Linked DNA regions of Homo sapiens: all the other regions are linked to region 1. Evidence: promoter capture Hi-C in 16 types of primary human blood cells and fetal thymus (Javierre and others, 2016). All regions are on one chromosome and are shown on one strand. Each heading gives the region's core, a stretch centred on a gene start or on the middle of the fragment in contact. The rest is flanking DNA. Distances are from core to core; before and after follow the strand shown. Region 1 holds the start of TMEM30B (transmembrane protein 30B). Region 2 has its middle 4.6 kb from the start of LINC02322. Region 3 has its middle 38 kb from the start of LINC02322. Region 4 has its middle 59 kb from the start of SIX6. Region 5 has its middle 43 kb from the start of SALRNA1. Region 6 has its middle 11 kb from the start of SALRNA1. Region 7 overlaps SIX1 (SIX homeobox 1).

The links. Contacts are between HindIII fragments. The CHiCAGO score rates a contact against its expected background, and 5 or more counts as called.
Region 2: a fragment that was not itself captured here is called in contact with the fragment with the promoter of TMEM30B in region 1 in 4 of 17 cell types (M2 macrophages, monocytes, M0 macrophages and 1 more); the score reaches 7.9 in M2 macrophages.
Region 3: a fragment that was not itself captured here is called in contact with the fragment with the promoter of TMEM30B in region 1 in 1 of 17 cell types (M0 macrophages); the score reaches 6.5 in M0 macrophages.
Region 4: a fragment that was not itself captured here is called in contact with the fragment with the promoter of TMEM30B in region 1 in 1 of 17 cell types (M2 macrophages); the score reaches 7.1 in M2 macrophages.
Region 5: a contact is called between a fragment that was not itself captured here and the fragment with the promoter of TMEM30B in region 1, in 1 of 17 cell types (endothelial precursors). The highest score is 5.3, in endothelial precursors.
Region 6: a contact is called between a fragment that was not itself captured here and the fragment with the promoter of TMEM30B in region 1, in 5 of 17 cell types (M2 macrophages, M0 macrophages, erythroblasts and 2 more). The highest score is 11.8, in M2 macrophages.
Region 7: a fragment that was not itself captured here is called in contact with the fragment with the promoter of TMEM30B in region 1 in 2 of 17 cell types (M0 macrophages and M2 macrophages); the score reaches 8.4 in M0 macrophages.

The regions. Positions count from the first base shown.
Region 1 is chr14:61,279,816-61,283,178 of GRCh38, forward strand. TMEM30B (transmembrane protein 30B) reads right to left here and starts at 1,523. Exons shown (of 1, transcript NM_001017970.3): 1 at 1-1,523. The coding sequence starts at 1,332. The coding sequence ends at 277. It also overlaps a transcript of PRKCH not described here. RefSeq lists an enhancer at 1-948. The HindIII fragment of the contact is 12,699 bases long and covers 1-3,363 here.
Region 2 is chr14:60,326,083-60,329,445 of GRCh38, forward strand. No RefSeq gene overlaps it. Among named protein-coding and RNA genes, the nearest start is that of LINC02322, 4.6 kb to the left of the region's middle. RefSeq lists an enhancer at 1,667-1,726 and a silencer at 1,837-2,146. The HindIII fragment of the contact is 1,908 bases long and covers 589-2,496 here.
Region 3 is chr14:60,359,847-60,363,209 of GRCh38, forward strand. No RefSeq gene overlaps it. Among named protein-coding and RNA genes, the nearest start is that of LINC02322, 38 kb to the left of the region's middle. The HindIII fragment of the contact is 3,188 bases long and covers 227-3,363 here.
Region 4 is chr14:60,566,182-60,569,544 of GRCh38, forward strand. No RefSeq gene overlaps it. Among named protein-coding and RNA genes, the nearest start is that of SIX6, 59 kb to the left of the region's middle. The HindIII fragment of the contact is 1,521 bases long and covers 980-2,500 here.
Region 5 is chr14:60,594,436-60,597,798 of GRCh38, forward strand. No RefSeq gene overlaps it. Among named protein-coding and RNA genes, the nearest start is that of SALRNA1, 43 kb to the right of the region's middle. The HindIII fragment of the contact is 442 bases long and covers 1,352-1,793 here.
Region 6 is chr14:60,626,981-60,630,343 of GRCh38, forward strand. No RefSeq gene overlaps it. Among named protein-coding and RNA genes, the nearest start is that of SALRNA1, 11 kb to the right of the region's middle. The HindIII fragment of the contact is 2,693 bases long and covers 523-3,215 here.
Region 7 is chr14:60,644,279-60,647,641 of GRCh38, forward strand. SIX1 (SIX homeobox 1) reads right to left here. Exons shown (of 2, transcript NM_005982.4): 2 at 1-2,299. The coding sequence ends at 2,005. Among named protein-coding and RNA genes, the nearest start is that of MIR9718, 2.7 kb to the right of the region's middle. RefSeq lists enhancers at 1-188, 2,618-3,240, 3,241-3,363. The HindIII fragment of the contact is 656 bases long and covers 1,165-1,820 here.

The DNA of each region.
Region 1 (3,363 bases), core at 273-2,772:
AGACTTGAAGAACCTCACATGGCAACTCAGTGTCGTGAAGGAGGTGGGAAGAGTTTGCAAGGATGTTTCACTCTGCAGTCAACATCCCTCCCCGCGGCAAGACAGTCTAGCAGCCCCCCAAGAGCAAGGGGGGTAATTCCCTTATCTGGTCCCCTCATTCACAAAGGGAGGAAAAGCTAGGCGAGGTTGGAATTGGGTGACGGGCGAGGAGGAGATGCCAAAAGCACCTTGCAAGAGTTTTGGCAAGAAGCAGGAGGGATCCCTGGAAAGCCGGAATCACTCCTCGTCGTCGTCGTCCTGGTCCTGGTAGCGAATGTAGACGACCAGCATGACAAAGCCGGTGAGGATGCAGAGGGAGCCGACGACCAGGTAGGCGATGCCCAGGAAGGGGTTCTTGCCACCCATCCACGAGATGCTGCTGAAGATGAGGAGCTTGTGGCCGCCGAACGCGCGCACCGGGTAGTTGTAGGTGATGTTGACGCGGTAGGCGCCCCGCGGCAGCCCGGCCGAGTAGTTGCCCTGGCGGATGCGCGCGTACAGTTTGCGGAACGTGGGCAGCGCCGCCGTGCGCATCCACACCACGAAGTCCTGATTGATGAAGCCGGTGTTGTTGGGGTCGGGGCTGAGCTCGTAGACTGGCCGGCGCCAGTTGGGCGGGGGCGCCGTGCCCTGGAAGGCCAACGCCAGGCTGCCGTTGACCAGCGGCGGGTTGCGGAACTTGACGTGGTAGTCGGTCCACCAGGCGATGCCGGAGCGGTCGAGCGGCACCTCGACGTAGGGCCCGCCGGGCTGGCGCTGGTGCCAAAGCGAGAAGGAGTCGTTGAAGAGGCTGTTGGCGATGGCGCCGCAGGGCGCGATGGGCAGGCCGGCCGCGCTGCGCTGGTAGGGGGCGCACTCGTTGACAGGGTGGCGCAGCGCGCTGGGGAGTCCGCTCAGCTGCGCGTCGTCGCGGGACACGCCGTAGCGCCGGTTGTTCTGGTAGAAGTTGGTCAGCTCGTAGTAGAGGTACACTGGGCCCTGGAAGAGCTCGGGCAGCGAGAAGTACCAGGCGCACGAGCAGGGGGGCGGCAGCGCCCGGCCCTGGCCAGCCGCGGCGCACACCGAGCAGTTACCGGTGCCCGGGTCGCCTGTATAGTCGTACTCCAGCTCCTTGATGCCGTTGGAGGAGTAGTAGAGGCCCAGGCCCAGGCCGATGAAGGCCAGGCCCGCGCAGAAGAAGAGCGGCAGCGCGATGCTGGCCGACAGCAGCGGCTGCCAGGCGGGGAGGCGCTGCTGAGTGAAGGCGGTGTTGTCGGGCTGGTGGGCGCCCCGGGCCGTGGCGCTCCAGGTCATGGCGGCCGCGCGGGGACCGACGCGCGGGCTGACCGAGTGGGGGCCCCGCCGCGGGGCGCCTCCCTCTCCGCGCCGCGCAAGCCCGGGGACTGCTCGCGGGTCGGGTTTCCCGCCAGCTCAGGTGGGTTTTTGCCCGGGCCCCTCCTCTGCCTCCGTCACAGGTGAGTTTAGTTCCAGGCCCTACGAGCAGTGCCCACACCCTCCCAGTTCCGCCTCCGCCCAGGTGCGCTGCACCCCCGCGGGTCACCGGGAGCCGCACCTCGCCCGCCCCTTCCGAGGTGAGCAGGTGGGTGTTTTTTACCTCACCTGGTAGACTCAGTCTCGCGTTTCCTCTCAGTCCAGGTCATCGGACTCCACCTCCTCTCCTAGGTGAGTGGCGGCCCCGGGCTGCCTCTGAGTGGCTCCTACCTGGCTCAGGTACCACCTTCTCTTCCGCCTTCCAAGTGACTAGAGTTCCTGGGCCAGTCTCCCGAAATCAAAAGGCGCTCCGGCCTCCAGCAGAAATTTTTGCTGAGGGCTTGCACCGTGGTCCTGGAGGCTTGAAGATTTCAGATCCTTAATCCTCTGTTATTTGCGGGGAAAAGGTGGCTCTAGACCATTTTGTCTTTTAGGTTAGCTTCACAAACCGCTTTCGCCCAGCTTTCAGTCTCAAGTTGGGAGTGTCCAGGGAATTACGTTATGATAAATCTGTTTCGAATTCAACGCCTGCGTTCAAATTTTAGCTTTTTTTTTTTTTTTTTTTTTTTTTTTTTTTAAGGGAAAATGATTTTCTGGCCAGATCACCCAGTCTGGCTGTATAACTAGGAAATGTGGAAAGTTCTCTAAAAATAAAATCATCCTTAAAAAGAATCAAAGGCTGGAGAGGTTCAGAGCCTTTAAATAACTCTTAGCTGGTGTGGAGAAACCAAGAAAGGAAAAAATGTGCTGGACTACATGTGATTTCGTTTTCTTTTCAGATTATTTGCCTGACTAGAGAAAGGCCCAATCCAAGGTCCCAGGAGACCTAGCTGCTATCCACAAAAACATCTGGAGTGTCTGGCCTAAGGAAGTAAACTACAAGGATTTATAGGATTTATTATAAAAAGAACTCAAATTAGCTCCCTATGTTGCCTGGGATTCTGGCTTTTTTTTTTTTTTTTTTAAATCTAGGTTGGTAAAACATATACAAGGGGGTATTGGGACGTTCTGATTTCTTACTAAATCTAAATCTTCCCTAGGTATTGTGTTCTTGCTTCTCCTCCAGCTTGTAAAATGCAAGTAATACAAATGTTTTCTCTATTACACTACACCTAGCATAATATATTATATTCAGGAGTCATTCAAAACCCATTGAACTTGGAAAGTTAAAATCCTTATTAAATTTAACAGAGGAATGTTGTTAGCATCTTCCAAGTGTTCAGTCCTATGCTAATTAGACAAAAAAGGACCTTTGACCTCAAGGCATTTGCAGTTTGATAGGGGACATATTAGGAGTAAGAAACAATCAAAATAGCCAATAATAGCTATGAATCATAGGGTGTAATCAAGTATCAAATTGCATTCTACAAGTCACATTAAAATTAAAAAGTAATATTGATTTAATAATGGAACATTGATTCCAGTTTGTTAAATGAATGCAAGTTGGAAACCAGGTATTATAGAAGACTGAGGGAAATTCAAGTGACTTGAATTTCAATTCCCTCACTTCTTATCATACCCAAAGAGAGGAAGTTCCAAAATTCTCAGCAAGTTCCCACAGTGTGATCCAGTCTCCAGTCACCCTTTTTTTCAATAAAAGAATAAATAGTTCTTTGTATCATTATGGTTGAGTTCCACCCACCCGTTTCATTGAATCACTAGTCCACAAAACTCGTCTCTAGGAAGGAATTCAGTTTTCACAACTTTTGTAGATTTTTTTTTTTTTGAGAGAGAGGTGTCTCCCTCAGTTGTCCAGGCTTGTCTCAAACTCTTGAGCCCAAGAGATCCTTCTGCCTCAGCCTCCCAAATTGTTGGGATTATAGGTGTGAGCCATCACACCAAGCCTATCTGGTA
Region 2 (3,363 bases), core at 293-2,792, 950 kb before region 1:
TCCCAACCACAAAGACTCCCCCAACTTAACTGGCATTGGGGTTTTAAAAAATTTCTCCAGGTCATTGTAACTAATGCACAAGGTGAGAACTTGTGCTCAAGAGACATTCTTTCTTCTTCCTCCACTTATTTCTACAATTGCTTTTCTCTTAAAGTAAAAATCTCAAGCTACAGTCAAAGTTCATTTCATGTCCATTTTATAGATAATGCCACACAATGTGAAGATTCATTCTGAATTTAAAAAATAACCTTTACAAATATCTTCTGAACCTTTGCCAAGGTCCCCACATCCCTCTTTTATTGTGAGGTCCAGAACTAGACACAGTCCTCCAGTACAGCCCTCAACATCACTGAACAGCAGCACAAGGGATGTTTGTATTCTTCTGAATGAAAGGTACTGTTATAAAGAAAGTCAGAACATTCGAAGGGGGTGGGGGCGGCTTTGATGGCCAAGCAAAAGATTTCCTCATGCCTACACTCAGTCTGGGAGTGAATGAGCCAGTTACATAAGGAGAAAATCCTCCTTCCTAGTGTTGAGCTTTCCTAATTGGAGGACTAAATGTGTCATTATTTAACTAAATAATTAATAAGCTTTCTTGTAATTCATGGATGACTAAACAGATAAACTCACCTGTACCAAACTTTCAGAGAGAGTTCCACTGATTTAATAAATTTGGTTCATGTCATCAGCATAAAAGTCATCTGAACCTTGAGCCTCAAAGACCAGTGACCTCCAAACTTGACAACTCAACTTATAAGAATCAACTCGGCTGCTTACTAAACATATATAGATGTCTGAGCAAAGGTATTTGTGGTTTTTAAAAAACTACATCAATTCTTCTCAAACTTTAATGGGGGTGGTGATGTGGTGAGGGCAGGTCTTGTAAAAAATTTAGACTCCCATCAACAGGTCTGAGTAGGGCCTGAGATTCTGCATTCCTAACGATCTCAAAAGTGATACCGTGCCGCTACTTCATGGACCACACTTTTAGTGGCAAGGCCCTAGACAATTTTGATAATCAGCCAGTTTGGGAACCAGAACTTGAGGCATCATAAATGTTACCTGAAATATGAAAAAGCTAATCTCCGCCTCAATGTTTATCAGCAGCTCAGGGTGCATCAGTGAGTGTTACACAGACGGATACAAAATGTGGGTGGGCAAATTTAATTTCAAACGGTGGAAGAAACCTTATTGAGAATGTTTAATTATGTTCATGCTCCGCTAATACGAGAATAGAGTGGACTCTTAAGTTCCTTTATTTCTCTAGTGATCTATTCTTTAGAGTTCACCAGCAAACACAAAGGCGGGAGGAACCGTTACTTTAAATTCATATTATTTTAGCTGATGTATCTGGAGCACAGTGATAAATTAATCATGACGTCTGGTCTGATTCACAATCATGTTCTAGCCTAATTTACACTTTGCATTTGCAGAACTGAAATGCGATGCATTAAAATGGTCACACACCACGGATTTTTCTCCTCGCTGCACCCATGGAGGGAGGCGCTGTCTCCGCCTTTTCCTGTAAGCACCTGCCCGGGGCCCAAGCCCACAGTGGATGGCTCGTCCAGCTCAGAGAGCGCCCAGGACGCAGTGAGGAAGCAGAATTGGGCGCTCAAGACTCAGACCCGGACTGATGAGCTAAGACTGCTTGCAAGAGGGAGTGGGAGTCGTTAAAAAAATATCCTCGTGGCTTAATGACCAAGGCGGGTTTATTCTCAAGGAAGGGGGAGCGGCGTGGTGGTGTTACTAAACATAACAGATGGCAGCTGTCTGCGGCTATATAGGGCGCGCTGACAAATCCCTCTGGATGGCCACGCGGCGCTGGGCTGCGGGGCCTGGGTGCACTTCGCGCCTGGCTCGGAGGGCGCCGCCTGCGGGAGGACCTCCGGGAGCCGAGCTGCCTCCCCGCAAACCCGGCCCGGGCCCACGCGGGCTCAGGGCGCCAGGCGGGGTGCGCCGAGGTGCAGCTCCCCGGCCCTAGGCTTCGCTGGGGTGGGGGTCGAGGCCTCTCCGCGGGTGGCTCCCTCCACCCTGCCGCCCCGCCTCGCGGCTGGGAGTTGCCCGGGAGCTGTGAATTCACTAGACCAGCATTCACCCAGGGCCTGCGGGGGCTGTGAAAGGATGGGAGGACTCGGCTCCCCAACCCACCTTTACAAAGCCGAAGTGTGGCTGGTGAGGTACCCGACACGCACACACTGCACCGTGATACTGAACCATGCCTGAGTGTGCATTTTGTGCGAAATGGGTCTTAGCCATGATTTCCATGTGGTGAACATCTTTTCCAAACCCCGGATTGAAACACGATTATCAGGTCAATAACATTTTTTCTATGATTTGGAGATTGATTCAGATGGGCAAAATCTTACAAAGTTAATAATCTTATAAAAATCTTACATAATAATCTTAAGTCGCTTTTAGAGAGACATTTAAAAAATATGTCTATTGAAAATAATAAAATTCAGTGAAATTGGACAGGACTGTGGCAGTTGGGGAAGCTTCCTGGAAGATCGGGCAGAAAGAGAGCTTGCCAGTTTGGGCTTGGGATGGGCAAAAACAGAGGGGATTGAGAGTTCTGGGGACTCAATAACGTACATCACTGTGATTTTCAAGCGGCAAATTTCTTTAGAAAGGTAAGGCCAGACAGACTAATGGGAACTGTCCAAGGAGAGGGAACAGAGGAACCCTCTGCACTTTTGGGGCTATGGTCTCTGAAATCGGCTGCAAGGACCACCACCTAGGGGTCGTGTGGTGCATGTCATGTGCTTGGCTTTCTGCAGCAGTGTTGGAGAGTTCCATGGGAAAAGCCTCCTCTCCCCACCCCTCATCATCTCCTCGACCCCTTTCTCAACAAATGTCAGGGACTAAGGCTTCCTTATTTTCTCCTCAATCACCTTGCAGTGCTTTTCACTGAAGGTGAGAAAGGTTGAGGTTCATTCATTCATTTAACAAATGTTTAAGAGCCTTCTATGTGCTAAGCCCAGGTGCTTGGAACCTGAACAAAACAGGTAAGAATCCCTGCCTGCGTGGAGTTTGCAAGAAGCAAGCTACATGGATAAAATCTGTGGACAGTGTCAGCCTGACAATGGGCTGCCTTTGTTTCCTGTAAATAGAATTATTCCTTTTGACTTAACAAGAATTCTGACACACTGAGGGTCCTCCATACATGTGAAGCTATCATTGTGATTATTCAGTAATTGCCAAGAAAAAGGCATACCTGATGGAGGAACCCTTATGTTTGAAAGAATAGAATAAAGTTTTAATTCCTTTTTTATGCATTTATCTGGTGGAGGGTGCTTTGGCCACATGCGAACCTTTCCCCAGTAACGTGGGTTTGTGTAAAGTAGGAGTTTGACTGTGAGG
Region 3 (3,363 bases), core at 571-3,070, 920 kb before region 1:
GTGAGTTCAGTAATGATAACTTATCAGTTTAATTTCTCTGTATCCATTATGCGATGAAACAAAAATAAAACAGGTAATTTTAGAGCCTTTCTACTTATTGCCTTTCCCTAAGGAAATATAACTAAAATTATAACATGTTTTGAAATCAAAAATTTTAGTCTTACTCTCTAATATTTAGGTGATTATGACCACTAGAAATGAATAAAAAGCTCAAAATTTATATTTAAGCTTGAAAGTCTAGAAATTATATACCTTTTCCTTGGTAGCCTAATGAACTATTTAAAGAAATGTAACAAATAGTTATAATTATGTACCAGGAGCCATTACTAAATTAGTTTTGTCATTCTAATATAGTTAGGGAAAATTAGCATCAAATAAAGCTCATTAATAAACTTTGATATTTGGTGGCTGATTATCTTTGATTTTGCAGCAAAAAGGGAGTCTGTTTTTCATTTATTGCTAAACATATGCCCTTTAGTTAATAAGTTTTGCTAATTGACATAGGTATGCATAATGAGAGCTATGCACTAATAGGAATATGAATATCCCCTTTTCATTTGTTAAAAACCTGACAACACTACTTATTAATCATTTTTGTGCAATAATTATTTGCAGTTGTTTTCAGAAATTTATGAATATTTGTTAGGATAAAGGTTTTTAGTTTGCATTTTTCTCCATATTTTATGTGTGTCTTGTTAACCTTATTACTTTAATATAATTCTATATCTAATAAGCAAAGGTTATTTAGATACAGAAAAATGCAATCAACAGGGAAGATGTTTTATAATGGTCTTCCTTTTAAAATAGAATATATCTGATACTTAGATTTATCTCATCATATAAACTTTAGTCACTAAGATCTTGGTGAAAATTCATATAATAATAAACACATTTGAAAATTATGTTTATCATTGAGCAAACTGTACTAAGCAAGTGGTGCAACTTAAAAGAATATATGCAGCATTAAGGGACCTCACACAGCTTTATAACAAATAGAATATGCCTATTTGTTTTACTGCCTTCAGTACATAATGCTGGCATCTAATCAAATCAAAAGTTTAATAGCCCTTGCCAAATATGTTTCTTTTAGAAAGTTATTTTAAAAAGAAATAATTATGCTTATTTTTCTTATGTTTGTGTGATTTTATAGCTATTATATAGCTAAGAGACATTAACTTTTCAAAAAGTATTACACTTCGAACTCTCAGAAAACCTTGCATGCTGATCATTAGATCCAAATAAAATTATACATTTTACCTTTAATTTTTTTGTTTACTCCTCAGAGTGCTGTGTTAAGTGTTTTGGATAAAGTGTAGTAATAATGAGGCATCTATTGCGATATAAGACAGATTGTGATCCTAGGTAGACACTGTACAGTTCTTTCATTCTTTCCTTCCTTTCCTCAGAAATATTTATTGAGAATCTTCTATGTGCCAGGCATGTTAAAGGCTGAGATATGAGGTCTCTTTCTATATAGAAAGCAGCTTCTCCAGTCATATTTTTTTCCTGGGCCTCTGATACGGTTTGGCTGTGTCCCCACCCAAATCTCATCTTGAATTGTAGCTCCCCGAATTCCCACATGTTGTGGGAGGGACCTGGTGGGAGATAACTGAATCATGGGGGCAGTTTCCCACATACTCTTCTTGTGGTAGTGAATAAATCTCACCAGATCTGATGATTTTATAAGGGGTTTCCACTTTTGCTTTGCTCTCATTCTCTCTTGCCTGCTGCCATGTAAGATGTGTCTTGCTTCCCCTTTGCTTTCTGCCATGATTGTGAGGCCTCCCCAGCCATGTGGAACTGTGAGTCAATTAAACCTCTTTCCTTTATAAATTACCCAGTCTCAGGTATGTCTTTATCAGCAGTGTGAAAACAGACTAATCAGCCTCTTTAGAAAATAAATGTATTGTTTTAATAATATTTCTTCCCCAAACATTGAAAACAACTTAAAAAGTGATAATTCCCTTTTGAACATACTATATTGAATAATAAAATTCCTTATTAGAGTGCCAAATTTTTTAGACTTTTTTTAGGTAAGAAAACGAATATTTATTTAGGTTGAGAAAATAAATAACAAGAAATTACAAACTTTAGAAAGTTCACATATACCATAAACATCACAATTGTGCTTAATTTTCTGACATGCCTCTATAATATATTGCCCCCTGTATTTTTTGAGGAAAATTCTGGAAACCCCCATCAAGTTTCTTTCATATATTAGCTGTAAAAGATGCACTTGGTGTTTGTTGATTTCCTATAGGTTTGTGACTACAAACAAGGGAATCTGATAAATTCTATTTCACATAATTACTATAGAAATCATTTCTTTCTACATGGGCCTCTCCATGGAGCATCTCACAACATGGCAGCGGGCTTCATCAGAGTGCACAAGCAAGAGGGAACATGCTAGCAAAACAAAGCCACAATCTCTTCTGTAATCTACTTACAGAAGTGATATTCTATCACTATTCAGTTGGAAGGAGTTCCTAGGCCCCACCCACACTCACAGGGAGGGGATTACACAGGGAAGATTACACAGGAGGCAGCATCCTTGGGAACTGTGTGGGAGCTGTCTGTCACAGCACCATAGGACACCTTCATAGGGTGGTCTGGACTCTGGCCTCATACCTTCCTGTCATGTGCTGGCTGAGCAGGCACAATGGGCCAAAGGAATACACTGAAAGCCATTCTGACATCATTCTGGGGTTCCTTAGATAGACACTGAAGCAACTGCAAGCCACCTAAACATACCCTGTTAAACTCAAAATGTGCCCTCAACTCACCAGTCCCTCATTTGGATCTCAAAAGTGCCATTGGCCATTCGAATATCATCTCACACAACTGGCTTTAACTGATTACAGTTAAAATATCTTATTCTTGCAAATTTTACAAAAGCATAACTCAGTGAATACATCAGAAGAGAGTCAAAGAACACTTCAGTAGTTTTACTGTCAATCTGCCTCTGAGTGAAAGCCATTATTACTGACTAGGTTGATCCCGAAAAATGCCACAAAACAGGTAAAATTTGGAAACTGCCTTGAAGAACAGTTTTCATCACTGCATTTAAGCCCCTTAAAAAATTGTGACTTTAATATAAGCAAGCCAATTAATCTTTTTCAAAAAGCTAAAGAAGAGTTTGGAGAAATATTTCTTAGATGCTTCTGCTCTTATAATGATTTAACATATTATATATGGTTTCATGTCATAGTAATTATATCAGATTCCTTACTGGTCAGTAAAACCATCAAAAAAAGGTACCCAGTAGTAATCAAGGACTGCTATTATCTTTAGGAAAAAGGTCTTAATCGTGAGGCACAGCAAGAAAGTGTTTTTATTCCAGCTCAATGCTTGCCTTGAATGAAC
Region 4 (3,363 bases), core at 490-2,989, 710 kb before region 1:
CTCCGGGATTTGAATATGTATCCTGCTCTCAAGGAGTTTATAGCCCAGAATCATAACTACATGTTGTGACTAAAGAAAATAAGAGTCCATGAGAACCCAAAGAAGGGAATGCCTGGCGGGGGGTGAATGACTCATCCGTGTAATCCCAGGACTTTGGGAGGCTGAGGTTGGGGGGAAATCACTTGAGGCCAGGAGTTCAAGACCAGCCTTGGAAACATAGTGAGACCCTGTCTCTATAAAAAATAAAAATAAAAATAAAATTAGCTGGGCATAGTGGTACCTGTAGTCCTAGCTACTCAGGATGCTGAGGCAGGAGAATCACTTCAGCCCAGGCGTTTGAGGCTACAGTGAGCTATGATTGCACTGCTGCTCTCCAGCCTGGGTGACAAAGTGAGACCCTGTCCCTAAAAAAAAGCAGGGGACAGTACTCAACTCTGCACAAAAATAGGGAGAGTTAAAGACTTACTTCATAGTGGCAGTAATGCTTGAGTTGAATGTTAAAAGTGAAGTAGATGTTGCCTGGGTTGACAGGATGAGGAAGGACATCTTAGGTTGCCTTGGAAATGTCAAGCCATAAAAAGGCAGGTACATGGGATCCAAGGTGGGGTGAAGTGAAATTTACAGCTGAGCAGAGAAGTGACCACGCAGGATGGTGAAAGAAGTTCAGGCTTTATCCTGCAGATAATGGAGAGTGCTTGCATGGTTTTAAGGTGGGGAGTAACACAATCAGATTTTCACTTTAGAATACCTACTCAAGTAGTAGTGTGGAAAAGAGAGAAATGAGGACAATATCTGAGTCAGGGTGACAAGTTAGGAGAGAGTTCAGGCAAGAGAAGATTAGGTGTGAGCTAAGGCAGTATTAGTGAATGTAAAGGAAAAAAAATGGACATGTTAGATTTTGTGGAGGTAAAATCAACAACAGAATGTAAAGTTTATAATGACTCCTGAGTTTCTAGCTTGGGTGACCAGTGGACCATGAAGCTTTCACAAAGATAGAAAAAACAGGAGGAAGAGTAAGTTTGAGGAGAAGTAACAATAGTTAACACTCATGGGGCAATTTGCATTAGGCACTACTATGCCAAAGTATGCCAAATGTCTTACATGCATGTTTTTTTAATTTTTATTTTATTTTATTTTATTTGAGACAGAGTCTCGCACTGTCGCCCGGGCTGGAGTACAGTGACGAGATGTCAGCTCACTGCAACCTCCGCCTCCCGGGTTCAAGCAATTTTCCTGCCTCAGCCTCTCAAGTACAACTAGCTGGGACTACAGGCACGTGCCACCACACTTGGCTAATTTTTTGTATTTTTAGTAGAGACAGGGTTTCACCGTGTTAGCCAGGATGGTCTTGATCTCCTGGCCTCGTGATCCACCCACCTCGGCATCCCAGAGTGCTGGGATTACAGGCGTGAGCCACCAAGCCCAGCTGATCTCTTTTAATCTACAAAAAACTTTGAGCGGTAAATATAATTATTCTCTCTCATTTTACAGATGAGGAAACCGAAATTGACAGGAGTAATTTGCGCAAGTTACATGGAGAATAAATGGCAGAGCCAAGATTTCAAGCTAGGTCCATTTGGCTACACCAGGGGTCAGCAAACTTTTTCTGTAAAGGACTGCATAGTAAATATTTTAGGCTTTGCAGACCATACAATCTCTGTTTCAACTACTCCCCTCTGCCATTGCAAGAAAGCTATAACCAAAGATAAACAATAACAAAAACAGAGTGGGACTGTGTTACAATGAAACTTTCCTAATAAATGATGAATTTAATTTTTATACAATTTTCATGTGTCATGAAATATTATCATTCTTTTGATTTTTCCAGCCATTTAAAAATGTGGAAACCATTTTTAGTTTGCAAGCCTTACAGAAAACAGGCAGAAGGCCAGATTTGACCTATGGGCCTCAGTTTGCTAACCTCTGAACTATACAACACTACTGAGAAAGATTACTTTCCGTTTTGGAATGTTGTGTTCAGAATGCCTATGGATTGTCCAGGTGGAAATGTCCTGTTGGCAACTGCATAAATGGATCAGGAGTTTGGAAGGGAGATTTGGGTTAGAGATCTGAACTTGGGAATCATTCATATAAAGGTGGCAAAGTACACTGCAAGGCAAAGACGGCAAGAAAAGAACAGAACAAAACTATGGAAGATGCCAAAATTAAGAGGATAGGAGAGATGTAAAAACCAGAAGGGAAGGCTAAGAAGGATCAGAGAGATGAGAGAAAAATTAGAAGACAATATTGTCATGGGAGCCAAAGAAAGAGTCACAAGCAGAGTAGGAGTGGTCAGCAAGGGTAAATTAAATGCACCTGAGAGATCAAGAAAGACCTGAGAAACATGAAGATTCCAGTGGATTTGGTGATTAGGAGGTCAATGGTTGCCTTTGTCAGAGCAGTTTCAGGAAAGTGGTAGAACTAATGTTTCATTGCGGTGGATTCTAAAGCAAACATGAGATGGGAAAGGGAGAAAACAGGTACAATTTATTTTTTGAGAAGCTTAGCAGTGAATGAAATAAATAAATGAGGTAACTAGACAAACGCTTATCTAATCTGGATCCCAGAAAAAGGCATCCTGAAGGCAGCTCCTTCTAGTTCATTCCCACAAGCTATCTGCCTCTCTTGAGTCATGGGGCTGCTAAGGACCTTCAGGCAACTGGTTATAGATGAGGCTGTAGCTATACAGGGTCACAGTAGAATGACCTGATGTGAGGTTTCCTTCCCTGTAAACTAAACTCAGAGGTGAGAACCAAAGGCAGTGAATACTGGAGACAGCTTGGCATTTGGCAAACTATGGCTCCTACTGATGATCCACCTTGACTCCATGTGTGAGTACGCTTGTCACCCTGTCCCACAAAAGCCAGGAGAGAGCAAATGGTAGGCCTATGTCTTCCCTGACTTCTAAGCTAGCAAGGTACAGGGATGGCAGAGAGCAGAAGGCCTCCTCCAGCATCTCTACTCTACAGGCCTCTACAGCATCAACTACCAGGTCAAAGACCCCATTGTCTTGCAATTCTGCAGGATTGTTGCCATTTAAGACACACCAGATCAGGTGCAGCAGCGCACGCTGGTAATCCCAACACTTTGGGAGGCCAAGTTAGGAGGATCACTTGAGTTCAGGAGTTTGAGACCAGCCTGGGCAGCATGGCAAAACCCTGTATCTACAAATACAAAAAAAATTAGCTGGGCATGGTGGCCCATGCCTGTAGTCCCAGCTACTTGGGAGGCTGAGGTGGGCAGATCGCTTGAGCCCAGGAGGTCAAGGCTGCAGTGAGCCGAGATCATGCCACTGCACTCCAGCCTAGGCAACAGAATGAGACCCTGTCTCAGGAAAAAACAAAACAAAACAAACAAAAAAAA
Region 5 (3,363 bases), core at 323-2,822, 690 kb before region 1:
GTGAAATATCAAGAAAATGAATGTGATCTCAAAGCTGTGGAGAAACAGGCTCAGGATCACATTATCCTGAGGCAAATAGCAACTGCGAGGGTCAAGTGGTTTTTTGGTTTGGTTTCCCAACTCAAAAGGAAATGTTAAAATTCACCATTTTGTTTTTATTTTGCTAAACCCAGAGTCAGATGGCCCCAACAAACCAAGACTGACATTGTACAGAGCATATACCTTACTCCTGAGGTCCCCAGTGTCCTAGCTGCATGCCCTCTAGGGTAGTTCAGTCTACCTACCGTCTAGGCCTACTGTCATCTGATTTTCAGTTCAGCAAATGTCTTAGATTGGAGAGTTAAATTTTTAAGTTATGGCCAATCCACACTTTAAAGCAATCATACCCATAAATAATCCATGTAAGTGTTTATGCAGTCGTTCTCTTCCCACTTCCTTCTTTCTAAGTGTTTTGTATTTACAGGAGTACTTCCAACTCTGCATTTTTATTCATATGTATAATTTCAGACTTCTTTCAAACCTACTGCTATTATATAAGTGAGTTCTGCCTCCACTTACTGATTTATGGTCTTCATTTTAAGAATGTTTTATTTTCTTAAAATCCTATAAAACACAACATCTTGACAGGAAAAAAATGAAAAATGTTGTACAATGACTAAAAATACATACAGCAAAATCTAAGTAATCCAATGACATTCATTTTTATTTCTCAGCTTAATAAAGGTCTGCTTATTGTTCTTAAAACAAACAAAAAAACCACACCTTTATTAGTATCATGTAGAAAAATCCTCAAAGGAAAGTATTTGAATTGATTCCTCAAAAATTATATTTAGAATTGTTTAATAGAAACATTGTAAATGGGTCAAGATTCTATGAGGAAAGGACATTGAATACACTTATGTTCTCACCTTTTAAAAAATTGGATGACTTTTAAGTTACAAAATAATTTTTTAAAAATGTTTCTTTAAGATTCAATAATTTTTTTTTTTTTTTTTCTGAGATGGAGTCTCGCTCTGTCACCCAGGCTGGAGTGCAGTGGCATGATATTTGTTCACTGCAACCTCCGCCTCCCAGGTTCAAGTGATTCTCATGCCTCAGCCTCCCAAGCAGCTGTGATTACAGGCACCTGCCACCATGCCCAGCTAATTTTTGCATTTTTAGTAGAAACAAGGGTTCACCACGTTGGTCAGGCTGGTCTCAAACTCCTGACCTCAGGTGATCCACCCGCCTCAGCCTCCCAAAGTGCTGGAATTACAGGCTGGAGCCACCACGCCTGGCCTCTGAAAAGAGGCAACCACCATCTTGCTGTGTGCTCACATAACCTCTTCGTTGCGTGTATGTGGGTAGAGTAAGCTTTGATCTCTCTTCTTGTAAGGATACTAATCCCATGATGGGGGCTCTACCACCGTGAACTCATCTACACCTAACTACCTCTCAAAAGCCCCATCTTCAAATATCATCACATTGTGGGGACAGCACGCTGGGGGGACGGGCACAATTCAGTCCATAGCAATCTACTTCATTTGAAGATATTTGTACTAACATATTAAAATAAACCTTAATAAAAACAGTTTTTAAAATATAGATGCATTAAATGTAAGCCTGATAGAAACAAATTATCATTAGTAAAATATTTAATTCTTCAATCAAATATTTATGTTCGATAAGTACTTTATCATATTATTTAATTTGGAGCTGGAAAGGTCCTTAAACATTATTAAGTCCACTTTATCAAATAAGGACATATACTTCCAAGAATGCAAATGACTTGCTCAGGGTCACATAGATATCAAAGCTTTGGTAGAATCAAGATTAGACCTCAGATCACCTGTCCCTAAACCAGGGCTCTTTCCATGAAGCCATACTGCATAACACATGCTCTTTTGTTTTCAATTTTTTTTCAAAGTTAAATATGCATATGCATAATATGCATAAATAAGTCATGCAGTTTTACAAGGTTTATTTCAACTAACAGGAGCCCTCTTTCCCACTTCCATTTTCCATTCACTACAAATTTCTCTTAACACTTTTTTCCAATGTTTGTGGAATTTACCTCCTTATTACTAAATATCATGTTTATATTGCTATTGTGATTATTCTTTTGTAGGTATAATATAGAGGCTCTCCTTTTGCAGCGCTCTATTATACACACACACACACACACACACACACACACACACAGAGATTTCTTCTTCCACCATCTTTCTAATAAAAATACCTTGTAATTTTGCATAGATAAATATTCCATATCTTATGACTATGGAAAGACTATTGAGTACTAAGCCATGTGGTACACTGTTGCTTTTCCTTTCCTCCATAACTTTATGTTCTGCCTGGAGTTAATGTGTCTTGCTTTTCGTTTGCTTGGATTTTAAGGTATGTATCACGAATTCAACTATAAACTCCTCTCTTATGTAAACCTTTTCTCCATACATTCAAATGTGTAATCTATTTTACTAATATTTTTCTCCTTGAAGTAATCTTCCTGAGAGCCTCTGGACTGGGCTGATTACTTTCTGGGCCTGCTGTACATCTGTCACCTCAGGACCTCCCGTCACCATCATCTTGGGGTTCCCTTCCCTCTCACTCCCGTTGGATCCCCTGATTCCCAGATTCCATGTCTTCCTCTTTCTTGCTTTACTCCCCTCCCCTTTTGGGCACACAATCTACAGTAGATTCTTGAGAAAGGGAAATATATAGATTGTTTTGCTGAACCACTTCAGAATAAGTTTGTCACTTCTCTAAATATTTCAGCAAGTATCTTCTAAAACAAGGACAATCTTCACACAAAACCATAATATAAATATCAAACCCAAGAAATCAGTATTATTTAATGTACGCACCATAATCACATTTCCCCAGTTGCCCAAATAGTGCCCTTTCTAGCTGTTTCTTTTTTAATCCGGGACCCAGTCAAAGATCATGCATTGCATTTAGTTATTAGGCCTTGTTAATCTCATTTCCTTTCATCTAAACTGTTTCTCCACCTTTTTTTATTCACATGACAATGACACTTTTTAGGAGCTTAAGCCTGTGATGAATATGTTCTAAATTTGTCTGGTGTAGGTTGCACATATGAAGAACATACCAAAAACCAATTATACAATTTAAATGGGTGAATATGTGCAAAATGTCTCTAAATTTGTATTTGTCTGATTGTTTCCTTGTGGTTAGAATTAGGATCTGATTCTTAAACAAATTTGCAACCAGTCCCCCTGTTTTCAAGCCTCATCTTTACCTGCTCTCTCAGAGCAAATGATCTCCTTTCATCCTGGCGTTTTTGGGGAACTTTCAGGTACAAATTAAGGTATTTTTTGCTTTTTCTCACTGCTAGGTCAGAATCCTGCTTTCTACAGTTTGCCC
Region 6 (3,363 bases), core at 619-3,118, 650 kb before region 1:
AATACGGGTGTGAGCCACCTCTCCTGGCCATACTAATTATTATTAATAATCCATATATCTCCACCTTGAAGAAGCAAAATCAATCACCCTATTATTTTAGTAAATAGAGATACAATAAAGTCTTATTGGCTGTATAAGACCAGGTATACTACTAGCTAGCACTACCACTTGCTGAGCACTTATTACATGTCATACGCTGTCAAAAACCTGCAACATACAGCAATTTAATCTTTACGGCAACCTTATGAGGAAGGTAGCACAATTATCTTCACTTTGCAGAAAAGGAAAATAAAGGTCAGAGGCAAGTTACATAATCTATGTAAGCCTCATCTCATTTTTAAACTGTGAATAACAGCATAGACATGTCTTATAGTTGAGTCCCGGTCAGGCACAGTGGCTCACGCCTGTCATCCCAGCACTTTGGGATGCTGAGGCAGGTGGATCACACGAGGTCAGGAGTTCGAGAGTAGCCTGGCCAACATGGTGAAACCCCGTCTCTACTAAAAATATAAAAATTAGCCAAGCTTGGTGGCATGCACCTGTAGTCCCAGCTACTTGGGAGGCTGAGGCAGGAGAATCGCTTGAACCCAGGAGCTGAAGGTTGCAGTGAGCCGAGATCACACCACTGCACTCCAGCCTGGGCAACAGAGAGAGACTCTGTCCCATTAAAAAAAAAAAAAAAAAGTCCTTACAAAGCACTTAGCATGATAAGTGTAACTCTTGAATGTGTGATTACTATTACAACTACCCAAGGATTACTGCTACTATTTATTTATTTATTTTGAGACAGAGTCTCACTCCATCACCCAGGTTGGAGTGCAATAGCACGATCTCCGTTCACTGCAATCTCCGCCTCCCAGGATCAAGCGATTCTCATGCCTCAGCCTCCCAAGTAGCTAGAATTACAGGTGCACGCCACCACACCCGGTTAATTTTTGTATTTTTAGTAGAGACCAGGTTTCATCATGATGGCCAGGCTGGTCTTGAACTTCTGACCTCATGTGATCTGCCTGCCTTGGCCTCCCAAAGTGCTGGGATTACAGGTGTGAGCCACCACGCCCAGCCAACTGCTACTATTTATTATTAGTAGTAGTATAGAGGTTATTTGCTCAGGGTCACACAGACAGTATGTGACAAAGTTGGAATTTGAACTCAGGTCTATCTGACACCAAAACTTGGGTGCTTAGCCAGTAGGAGATGATGCCTCTAAATGACAAATCCAGGGTAATTCTGAGAATAAAATAACACTTCTAGAAATATGAAAGTGTTATTTCATATTAACACTTTTATGGAGAGAACATACAAGAATGGTCATCCAGCAATAGAAGCCCATCTCTTTAAAATTTCTCCTTCCAGACCCAAACACACATACGAAGCAAATGTCTCCTCCCACTCATCTTGCAGGTCAAGATGACCTTTTATCTATCTGACCAAAATATGATATCTTGATGGTCATAAAACTATATCCTTCTCAAGGGAGGAGGGTAAGGAACTAGAAGTTAATGAAGAAACATGACTGGTGCAAGCCAGAAACACCCAATATTGAGCCAAGATGACCACACCATAGAATGCAGAACCAAGTCTTTATCCTGGCTGATACAGTACCAGCAATATGACTTTGAGTGAACTATGTAGTTCAGGCATATAAATCACAGTGAATGGTGATGCTGAACCATGGCATTAAGGGACAAGTTCTCTGAATAGTGGCCTTAGTAAGATTGGTGTGATTTTTGAAATATTTCTTGATATGGTTCTAGTTCACCCACCAAGTTAATTTCACGCATTTGCCATTCTTCTAGCTGCCTTGGAATTCATATGTGAAATTGTTTTGGATCAGTATATTAAAATAGTTCAATGAAACCCCATTCCTTATTTATCAGGATAAAGTAAATTGATTTAAATTACATTGTTTTAGGTTTCTGACCCCCAAGATTTCTCTGTGTGTCTGTGTTTTAAGCTATCATTTCTCAAACACCTACTATTTGCTAGGCATTAGGCCTACCCTTTAAATACATTAATAGGAGAAATGTTCCTATCACTCACTGTCCCTTATACTCCTGAACATCATTCTTTCATCTATTCAAAAAGCATCCATGAAGCACCATCTAGGTATTTGGCACTGAGCTGGGCACTGGTCATACAAAGATAAATAAAGTGCACCCTCTCATATGATAGATACCCATCTTCTTCCTCTATTTATCTTCCCTCAGATGCCATCTATGCCTTAAAACTTAGACAGAATTATGGACGAGAAAATAAAGAACACAAAGGGAAATTAGGTTCAGTAATAAACAGGAGTAGGGGAATGTCCAAGAACAAAAGTTTGGAAAAATATAAAACCGATCAGACTCTCCTCAGGTGCTCCATATGGATCAGGTCTTACTAGAAATCTCTTACCTGGGAACTTTAAACAAAGGACAGTCAGCCTCTAATATCAGGATGACATCTGGCAACCTGAGAACACTCCAGAGACATTTATTCAATATTCAGAAAAGAAAACTACATGTCTAGGTTCTTTATAAATCATCAGAGTCAAGGTTTTCTTGTTGAGGGGAGGAAGAAAGAAAAAGGAATGATAATGCTACCTTCTGAAGTTGACCAAGACAAAGTCTCTAAATCATCACAAGCTGATCCTATCTAAAGTATGGACAATTTGAAAATCCATGAGATATTTTCCAGATTTTAGCCCAAGTCCTAGACCCCTTGAGGTTTAACTAATGTGCTAAACTCGAAATGATACTTGCCCCTCTAAACCCTTTCTGAACAAGACTAGAAGGGGTTTATTGAGAGCATAATTACTGCTTCTGGAAATAACACCAGAAAATGTTTTTTAAAGGATAAATACTGAGGTGTTTTGAGTGGGCATCAAAGGTGGCAGTGAACTTCTGCCAAGAACCTTAAAAGGCAACCACAATGCAGTAAACTCAGCCTGTTCTGATGGGTTATCTAGAACCTTAAATGTTTTTTTTTCTAGCCACCCTGAACTCTTAACAAGAAGATGACAAACCACAGGTTAGACAACTGCAATAAAGGATGTTATTTATTATGTACAAGTTACACTCTTAATAAATTATCTTTGCCAACATGCTGAATACAGTAAGGCATTCAGGCAGCTGGTGTACTCTTTAGCAGATCTCTAAGATATGATTCTACTAAAAATATAGAAAGAAATTTTAAAACATAAAAAGATAGAAATAGAACCCTGATGGCCTGAAAGCTTTTGTGTACCTTAACAGACCTGTAATTTACTAAGGGGTGAGGGAAAAGGTTGACTGAAGCTGCCTGCCTAATCTAGATTTACAAACTGTTTATAAAATTGGAGCAGTCAGTCCAATAAACATTATGCTTTCTGTACTGCAAATG
Region 7 (3,363 bases), core at 243-2,742, 640 kb before region 1:
AATAAACACCCTAGTGACTTAAATAAACACCGACTTAATGATCCAAAACACTAACAAGGGAGATTGGGACCCTGAGCTCCCAAACCAAATGATGGTCTCTGAGTGGCTGTGTGCACATCTGTCCATCACTGAGGGGGAAAAACGACTTTATAAGTAAAAGTGTGTACAGTTAAGTACAGTGACCATTTCTCCCTGGAACTCAAAGCTATTTGACAGTTTTAAAAAATAAGGCCTTGATTTCCCCAAGCACACCTCAGTTTTCTAGACCAGAACAGAAATAGGAAAGAGTAAGAAAGAAATAATATATTAATGGTGACAATTATAGATGGGAAAAAATCAAAATTATGAAACTGTCATGTCAGAAAATAAATAGATTCTCCCTGGGGAACAATATTTTACAAAGCACAAGCAAGCCAATCCTGTTATCCTGAGTAGAATTTTAATAAATAATGCCATTTGTTTCACTAATTTTAAAAGCTAAATACAGAAGATACATCATTTTGCCCCAGGCAAAAATAATATGGAGCCTACATGATTACTGGGATTTTTCTAGACACCATCCGGCAGCACTGCAAAAGAGCTCCTGTCCTGCTGGTCTGCTTTCTATTTGTACAAATTAATTCACAATGTTTCTATCCTTGTTCTCCTTCCCTTTTTTGTCTTCAAGCAGATAAATTATTTTTACTTTCACAGTCTTGTCATAAACTTGTTAACACAAAAGAGCTTAGTTAACATATGAATGCTGTGAAGAGATAGTGGTAAACAAAATTGCATATCTAAATAATAGAAGTTAATAAATACCCCAAGGCTAAATTCACTCTTTCTGTCATATAATTAATCTAGTTACTACTCTTGGTTCAGATGATGGCCTTCAAAGTACCCTGCAATTCACAGCCACCATTAAGTAAGAAAGAAAAATATATTTAAAAAAAAAAATAGGGCCCAATGACAGCAATACACCACTCACCTTTCAGAAACAGAATCATACTCCTGGTGTTCTACTAAGTTTTAATTTAGACTGCTTTAGGTACAATAGAAAAGAAACCTGAAAACACATGCTGTTTTAGTAACAAATACCAGGTTGCCAGATTCGTTGGCATACCTTTGCAAACTAGAAACTAGAAACAGGAGAAACCCTTTACAGGAGTAGGCTACAGATATGAAAGCTTTGAGGGCATGAGTAATGGCATTCAGGAAAGTGTTTTTTCACATTGGTACATTTTTAGAGTTTGTCATTTAAAAAAAAAAAACCCAAGAAAACAAACAACAACCAAAAAATCCCACTAAATTTGACAAAAATAGTTGCATTACTAATGGTCACGTCTATTTCTGTCTCACATAGAGAGCATTAAGACATTTAGGCACTTGTTTTTTCCTCCTAATACTGGTCTTTTATTTTAATCTACATTAAATTGTTTAACACTAAATATGAAAAATGTAAACTTAATTTTTCCTCATCAAAGAAAGTTATAGATTGTATTTTTCCTGTTCACCTTAAGAATGTAATCAGTTCTTCTGAGCCTGGAGGCTCTTATTTTCACTATTTTTATCTCCCTTTCTCTTTCTCTTTCCATTTCCTTTCCCTCTTCACATTTCTCCATATATAAATTAAAAGGAAATAATGAAAATCCAGTTGATTTGCAATTCCCATTCATTGAAAAAAAAGAAAGGCTGCTGAAACAGGCGTATCAGTTGCCCAGAACTCAGACTGGGTGCCTGGGTGCTTTTGTTTGTTTGGGTTTTTTTTTTTTTTTTTCCCTGATCTCTGCATTGGGAAGGAAAATGCAAAAGTGGAAAGAGTTGGAGAGAAGAGGAGATTAAGCTTGAGATCGCTGTTGGTTTTGATTTTTAAAAAGATATTTGTGAAAGTCCACCATTCCTTTATGCGCAAACAACTCCAGAAACAAGCTGCAAAAATGTTCCTGATTTCTATTTACAAGTGTCCCTAGTCGCTGCAGTGGTTGCTGCTCCAGGAATCCCTTCGAGGCCCCAGTCCCTCCCCACTTAGGACCCCAAGTCCACCAGACTGGAGGTGAGGGGGCCGAGCAGAGAGTCTTGGAGCTGATGCTGGTGGGTCTGCAGGCCGTGACTGGGCTGCGAGGCTGTTAAGCCCGGGAGAGAATAGTTTGAGCTCCTGGCGTGGCCCATATTGCCCTGCAGCAGAAGGACCGAGTTCTGGTCTGGACTTTGGGGAGGTGAGAATTCCTCTTCTGAGCTGGACATGAGCGGCTTGCCCCCTTCCAGAGGAGAGAGTTGGTTCTGCTTGTTGGAGGAGGAGTTATTGTTTTCGGTGTTCTCCCTAAGAAATAGAGGACAACACCATATGGTTAAAAAAAAAAAAAAAAAAAAAAAGTAGGTTAAAAAAAAAGTGTGAGATGGAGGGAGGGGAGCTGGAAGGAGGAAAGGGCCATTGTGCAATCTGTCACCAACCCAAATGGAGGAGCTCTACCCTTCCACCCATCCCCAAGGGTAATGGGGGAGGTGAGGAGTCAGAGGAACCTGGAGAAATGGAGAGCTACGGACAGAGCCTCCTGTTAGGAGCCAGGTCCTTTTCTCTTCCAGATTTCAGAAAGTGATAGATTAGCAGGATTTATTTGAAACATACAAAATATATGTTTTAAATTTTGTTCAAGCAGTTACATTTAAATACATATAAACTAGCAACATATTTAAATGTAACTGAAAATCTTTCAATAAATAGATATTGGTGATAAAGAAATGATAGAGGACAGAGTCCAATGCACAAATGTTTGGGGTGAATCAAGTCCATTGCCTTGTTCGCATATGAGGAGACAATTAAACATCCCGTTTTCCTGCCCCAGCCCAGAGTTGGTGGTTTTGCAGACACAGAACAGGTCATGGGAAGTGGTGCCCAGCGCGGCCCAGTGACCTGAGTAAACACAGGGAGCGCAGCCAGTCTCTGATTTCATCTGGAGTCGGCCCTCGGGCCTGGCTTATAGGACGGCCGTTTTGTAACTAAAGGCTAACTGCAACCATACAATCCCTGTTCCTGTGTTACTTGCTAACTCTTCAGCCCCTCGTGTCCCCCTCTCAAACTTCCTACCAACACCCACCCCAACCCATCCTTTCTGGGCAGGGGAAACTTCGCCGCCCCGCACAGGCTGCCAGCGGGCGCGGCGCGCTGGGGCGTCAGTCCGGGCACTCGGTACCGGTTAACTTCAGGATTTCGCTTCCCTCGCCGCTTCCGCCTTCCGAGTGCTCGTCAGTCCTCCCGACTCCTAGCGCCTGTCTGTCTCCTTTCTTTCCCCTTATCCTCACAGTCTCTGTCTCCCGACAAGCCCATTTCAGCAGAATTTATCCTGGCTCTGGTTTTCCACCAAGACAAGAAAGGGAGCAAGATCT